2 separate regions of the Homo sapiens genome follow, and region 1 is linked to region 2. Evidence: promoter capture Hi-C in 16 types of primary human blood cells and fetal thymus (Javierre and others, 2016). All regions are on one chromosome and are shown on one strand. Each heading gives the region's core, a stretch centred on a gene start or on the middle of the fragment in contact. The rest is flanking DNA. Distances are from core to core; before and after follow the strand shown. Region 1 has its middle 2.6 kb from the start of TMEM170B. Region 2 holds the start of RANBP9 (RAN binding protein 9).

Region 1 (3,160 bases), core at 82-2,581, 2.2 Mb after region 2:
AATAAAAATTTAAGTTTTAGCAGTAACATAAATATGCAGTAGCCAGCCCCTCCCCCCACCTTTTTTCAACCCCTCTGCCATCTGGATAAAGAAAAATTTACAAAGAGAAGTGAAGAAATACCTGCTGTAGCTAAATCATGAAGTATATTTGACAAAGCACTGAAGGGTCAAATTACCTGTCAAATGGTGCTCTTGGTGACCACTTTAAAATAATATTTACATACACATTTATTTCTTTGTTTATTTGTATTTTCTTTTTGATGTCACAACATAAGAGAAATTTTTGCACCATTAATAGGAATTGAGCCAAAACTCTTAATGTAGAGTTTATCTTCCTCCTAGAATTTAGACTTAATTAGATCTATTAACAAGATTACAGAATATCAAACCTAAAAGAGCGCTTTAACATTTTTCTAATTTTATTTTACAGATAGGGAAACAGATTCTGTGAATTAAGTGACTTGACAGAGATGACAGCACTTCACAGCTCAGTTTCTGAATTCCTGGTCTATTATTCTTTCTAGCAACCACATTATCTTTCTTAACCCACTGTTAACTCCCTCACTTTAAGATTCTTGATGGGGAAGTGCAGGTTACCTAATGATATTCTTAAGGGACTTGGCATTACATAATTAGTGATGTTAGGGAATGTGACCACATTCAGTGAAGGGTTCACAGCAAACTCCCTGAGCAGGGGCTCATTAAACTCTCATATCAGAAACCTTTAGTTAGTTTACGTTCTTAGGATTGCACACTATTATTTAAAACACAGTAGCACGCAGTGAAAATATTCAGAACCTGGGACAGTGCCTGGCACCTGCACCACAAATATTTGTTGAATGAATCACTGAATGATCTTCATAGAAAAGTCAGCATTGTTCTTGTTCTGAATAAATATTTTTTACAGAATCCAAGTGTTCATGTCAGGAAATGAGAAAGACACAGCAATGAAGTCTCAAGTCAGTAATGTTATTTGCTGCCCAACAACTTCACCCCTGCTGTTCAGTTCAATTTAATTGGCGTCTATATTTATTTGGCATCTACTATCTGTAATGTTCTGTGCAAGGTGTTATCTGTAACATTTGAAGATAAGATCTCTACTCTCTAGGCTACTTAGGTTTTCCTTGATAAAAGTAATGATCTTGACTGTGTTGGAAGCTTATATCCTTAAGAGAATTAGACATTTTCCCAACAGCCAGAGTTATGAAACCCAAAACTGAGTTAATACAAATGAAAGTTTTGGAATTTCTTTCCTACAGATTTTTTATTTTGAATTAATACACCAATTCAGGAAGAGTTTAGTCACGTTCCTGTCAGAAATCAGGGACCACCCCAAGTGAATCCAAAAATTTCCTTTCAACTCTGTGCCCTTCAGCATGAAACAATTCACAAACGTAATTCATAAACCAAAATTCCTGGTTTATTTCTCTCATGTAAGTGAGGGAACACCCATTAGCCTTAGTCATTTTTAAAACTGTCCAGAGACAACCTAGAGGAAAGCTTTTTAAAATCAATTAAAATATAAAATGATATTGATCTTTTGAGAAAAACATTTTCAGGTATCTTTTCAGAAGCACCCCACTCTACTGGTATCAACTTAACGTATTAGTCCATTTTCACGCTGCAGATAAAGACATACCCAAAACTGGGCAATTTATAAAGGAAGAGGTTTAATTGGACTTACAGTTCCATGTGACTGGGGAAGCCTCACAATCATGGTGGAAGGCAAGGAGGAGCAAGTCCCGTCTTACATGGGTGGCAGCAGGCAACGAGAGAATGAGGAAGACGCAAAAGTGGAGACCCTTGATAAAACCATACAGAGCCAAATTATATCATTCCTCCCCTGGTCCCTGCCAACTCTCATGTCCTCACATTTCAAAATCAATCATGCCTTCCCAACAGTTCCCCAAGGTCTTAACTCATTTCAGCATCAACTCAATAGTCCACAGTCCAAAGTCTCATCTGAAACAAGGCTAGTCCCTTCCGCCTATAAGCCTGTAAAATCAAAAGCAAGTTAGTTACTTCCTAGATACAATGGGGGTACACGCATTGGATAAATACAGCCATTCCGAATGGGAGACATTGGCCACAACAAAGGAGCTACAGGCCCCATGCAAGTCCAAAATCTAGACTGATTCAGCTTGATTCAGCTCAGTCCAGCTCCACAGGTCTTCTCATTTCATACCTGAGGCTGAGGAAGATGTCACGCTCTGAGTACATGCCATTCTCATGGTATAGGGCTGGAACCAGGGCTACAATGGGACACTGGCCTTGCCTGCAAAGCCTTGCCTGCAAGTCTTGACAACAGACTCTGAAACACTCTGTTATCAAGATAAATAATATACTAATATAATATTTTTAAAAATAAAAATTCATGCAAAAATCCATGATTAATGAAATACCAAAATTTTAAATAAACACAGAATCTCACCCTGCACTTGCAAGACCTTGTCTCACCCACCTCATCCTTATCCCAGCTCTGGCATGGACAAGAGAGGCAGGGCTAAACTACACAGGTGCATTTAAAGTTCATGCTCAGATATGGGGTCCATGTCACATGCATGTCACATATCCACATTCCCTTGTTTGAAGCAGATTGCATAGTTAAGCCCCTAAGTGAATGGGATAAAAAAGTATATTCTGCCTACAGAGAAGGATGGAAAGAATGAATGGGAGGGGGCAACAAATGGTAATGAACAAATAATGCAGTCTTAACACAGGCTGAGTGAGGTTAAGTCTTCTACAAATAATATATTTCAGCCTATATTTCTGTGTACTTTTTGTAGTTTGCGCTTTACGAATTTTGATTCTATGTGTTTTAGTGAACACATATGTATGTAAGATTTGTGATTTTGCTTTCTTAAATTAAAAATATATTAATTTCCATTATAAAATGCTTTTAAAATTTATGTGAATCTTGTCTGATGTTAAGGTCTTAAGTCCTGCTTTCTGTTTGCATTTGCCTGATATGTATTTTTCCATTCTTTTTCAACTTTGAATAATTTTGTTTTAGGAGTTTGACATCGTATTCCAATATGAAATTTCTAATTTAATAGAAGAACTTCTAGATAATTTCTAGTCGTTGATATAATAAATATGTGGTATTACTTGCATCATAGTTATATTATTATTTCTATTTTTGTTGCTTCTTTTAAAAAAG
Region 2 (3,020 bases), core at 363-2,862:
AAAAAAAGTCATCAAACAACAGGTTAAAATTAATGGATATTTCTATCAAACTACAACAGAGGCCAGGCATGGTGGCTCACGCCTGTAATCCCAGCACTTTGGGAGGCTGAGGCGGGTAGATCACTTGAGGTCGGGAGTTCGAGACCAGCCTGGCCAACATGGTGAAACCCCGTCTCCACTACAAGTACAAAAATTAGCTGGGTGTGAGCACATGCCTGTAGTCCCAGCTACTTGGGAGGCTGAGGCAGGAGAATCGCTTGAACCCGGGAGGCGGAAGTTGTAGTGAGCTGAGACCACACAACTGCACTCCAGCCTGGGCGACAAAACAATAATAATAATAATAATAAAAGTACAACAGAACATCTAGTTGTCTGGGTAACTGAGGGAGAAATTAGGCCGAATGACTCTGTTATTTGTTCTGGCCAGATAATCTTGGCCTTAAATTAAATCACCTTTGGCCTACCTTCTTCAAAACGAAATAATTTTCTCTTCGGCAAAACATTTCTTATTTGACCAAATGATTACCATCATATCTTTGGAAGCAAACAAAATATCAGAATTTACATCACACAATTTACATATGCAAAGCCTGATTTTGCCAGCTAGGGAGGGATAAGCTAAACAAAGGGAAGTGGTGAAAACAAAGTAGTAATGTTATGATGGGTCAGAGAGCAACACTTGGCAAGTTGTGCCAAATTAGTCGACGAAGCATTCTATTGGGAATTGCAAAGTAGGAAGTCCTATTTTTGACTCTGCTGATCTCGGTAAATATTTCCTTGTTTTAAAAATGGGCATAATTTTCTGTTACCTAAGAACCCTGTTATGAAAATTAACGAGTCTATAAAATGTTCTGACGTCTCTAGAAGCCCTTCCTAAACACACACTATAATCTTGTATTCATACAGTGCCTGCTCCTGCTTTTTGAAGATATGCCGGTCTTTATTAATGACATCTTCTACCACTGTTAAGTTCACTGTGAGTCCTCGTAAAATTAATTAATGAAACAGTCACTATTCTAAGTGGGAGACTGCCTTCAGAAGTGGTTTCTACTGCCCATATGGTCAATGCTACGGAATTAAACACTGAAGTACCAAAGGCAATGCGTTCCTCTTTGGAGGGAGGCGGCAAACGGGAACGGGACTGAGGCGAGAGCTAGCAGCACTGCGCGGGGAGCCTGAGCCGCTCCGCACGCCCCGGGCCGACGGGTCCTAGAGCGCCCCGGGGCCTGGGCTCGCGGCGGCCCCAGCGGGGCTCGATTACTCTCGCCTGGACGAGAAGCGGCGCCTCGGCTCCGAGGAGCCCTACGGTGGGGAGGTGGGGCGACGACAACAAAAAGAAGTCAAGTGGGAGGGGATTCGCCGGCGAGGGGGGCGACGGCGGCCGCCAAGGGAGAGGAGGCGGACACCTCCGAAGGGACCTGCGGCGCCGGGAGCCCAGCGATCCTGCCCACGAGCGACTGGCGGGCCCGGGAGGACGCCTCGCGGCGCACAGCCGGGAGCCCCGCGGCCCGCCCCCTCGCACCGCTCGCGCCTCTCTCGCGCCTCCGTCCCGCCCCCTCGCCTAGCGCCGCCCGCGCGCAGCGTCTCGCGCCGGCCCGGCCCGCCCGCCGGGAAACAGCCGCGAGAGCAGCGGCCGCGGCGGCCGCCAGCGCGCCTTCCCCTCCCGCGCTCCCGCGTCGCCCCCGCCCTCGGCGCCTCGTCCCCGGGCCGCGCGCCCGCGCTCCGGCCAACGTTCTCTCCCGGCCTCCCGGGCCCGCCGCCTACTCCCGCGTCTCCGAGCTCCTCAACCGCCGCGGTCTCCCTGGGCGCGCGGCCCGCCGCCTGCTTCCGGGGCGGGCGGACTGGGCGCCTGGTGCCGGCGGCCGCAGCGACAGCGCCCCCGGGAAGCAGAGGAGGAAGGAGAGAAGAGGTGGAGGTGGCCGCAGGCTGAGTCGCGGCCGGGATGTCCGGGCAGCCGCCGCCGCCGCCGCCGCAGCAGCAGCAACAGCAGCAGCAGCTGTCGCCGCCACCGCCGGCGGCCTTGGCCCCAGTCTCCGGAGTCGTCCTGCCGGCGCCCCCGGCCGTCAGCGCCGGCTCTTCTCCGGCCGGCTCGCCCGGCGGCGGTGCGGGCGGCGAAGGCTTAGGGGCCGCGGCGGCCGCCCTGCTCCTCCACCCTCCGCCGCCGCCGCCCCCGGCCACCGCGGCCCCGCCGCCCCCGCCGCCGCCCCCGCCTCCCCCTGCCTCAGCGGCTGCCCCCGCCAGCGGGCCGCCCGCTCCCCCGGGCCTTGCAGCGGGCCCCGGCCCGGCTGGAGGAGCCCCGACCCCAGCTCTGGTGGCGGGCAGCAGCGCCGCGGCCCCCTTCCCTCACGGGGACTCGGCCCTGAACGAGCAGGAGAAGGAGTTGCAGCGGCGGCTGAAGCGTCTCTACCCGGCCGTGGACGAACAAGAGACGCCGCTGCCTCGGTCCTGGAGCCCGAAGGACAAGTTCAGCTACATCGGCCTCTCTCAGAACAACCTGCGGGTGCACTACAAAGGTACTGGGCGTGTGTCCTGCGGTGGGAGTGGGGCACTGACCCGACGTGGCCGGCCGCCGCTGCGCCGCTCTCGACCCGCCCCCGACCCCCGCCCTCGCGGGCTCTGCCCTCGGAGGCCACTCGCCGCCTGTTGTGCTGCTCCGGGTGGGCGCGGGGGTCGCGGTGAAGGGTCCGAGGGTGAGGGGCGAGATTCTTGGAAAAGGAAGGTGAGTAGAATGCCCCAGGGTAGAAAGGAGCTGGTAATCCTAGACCAGGAGCAGGACACCTTGAGGGAATCCGGGATGACAGGACAGAACTGGCTTTCTGATTTCCCTGGGAGATAAATCTTGGGGCTTGGGTAGAGGAATCCATGGACTCGGAGTTGGGTTACATTGTTCTCCAGGTGGTGGGTCAGGCGTTCTCCTCTTACAAGGGGGGAAGAGAGGCACGATTCTGAGGTATGATTTCTAATTAAGAGAGAGCAGGGATACACAGGGGGAGGAGTAATCAAAATTAGGCCAGAGATTGT

The links. The method cuts DNA at HindIII sites, captures the fragments that hold promoters and counts their contacts. A CHiCAGO score of 5 or more calls a contact.
Region 1: a fragment that was not itself captured here is called in contact with the fragment with the promoter of RANBP9 in region 2 in 1 of 17 cell types (naive CD4 T cells); the score reaches 6.5 in naive CD4 T cells.

Annotation. Positions count from the first base shown.
Region 1 is chr6:11,533,566-11,536,725 of GRCh38, reverse strand. No RefSeq gene overlaps it. Among named protein-coding and RNA genes, the nearest start is that of TMEM170B, 2.6 kb to the left of the region's middle. The HindIII fragment of the contact is 342 bases long and covers 1,161-1,502 here.
Region 2 is chr6:13,710,427-13,713,446 of GRCh38, reverse strand. It overlaps RANBP9 (RAN binding protein 9), which reads left to right and starts at 1,612. Exons shown (of 14, transcript NM_005493.3): 1 at 1,612-2,512. The coding sequence starts at 1,942. It overlaps LOC124901264 (a long non-coding RNA gene), which reads left to right and starts at 693. Exons shown (of 2, transcript XR_007059462.1): 1 at 693-764; 2 at 906-1,095. RefSeq lists silencers at 1,108-1,877, 2,038-2,157, 2,238-2,287, 2,548-2,667. The HindIII fragment of the contact is 8,985 bases long and covers 1-3,020 here.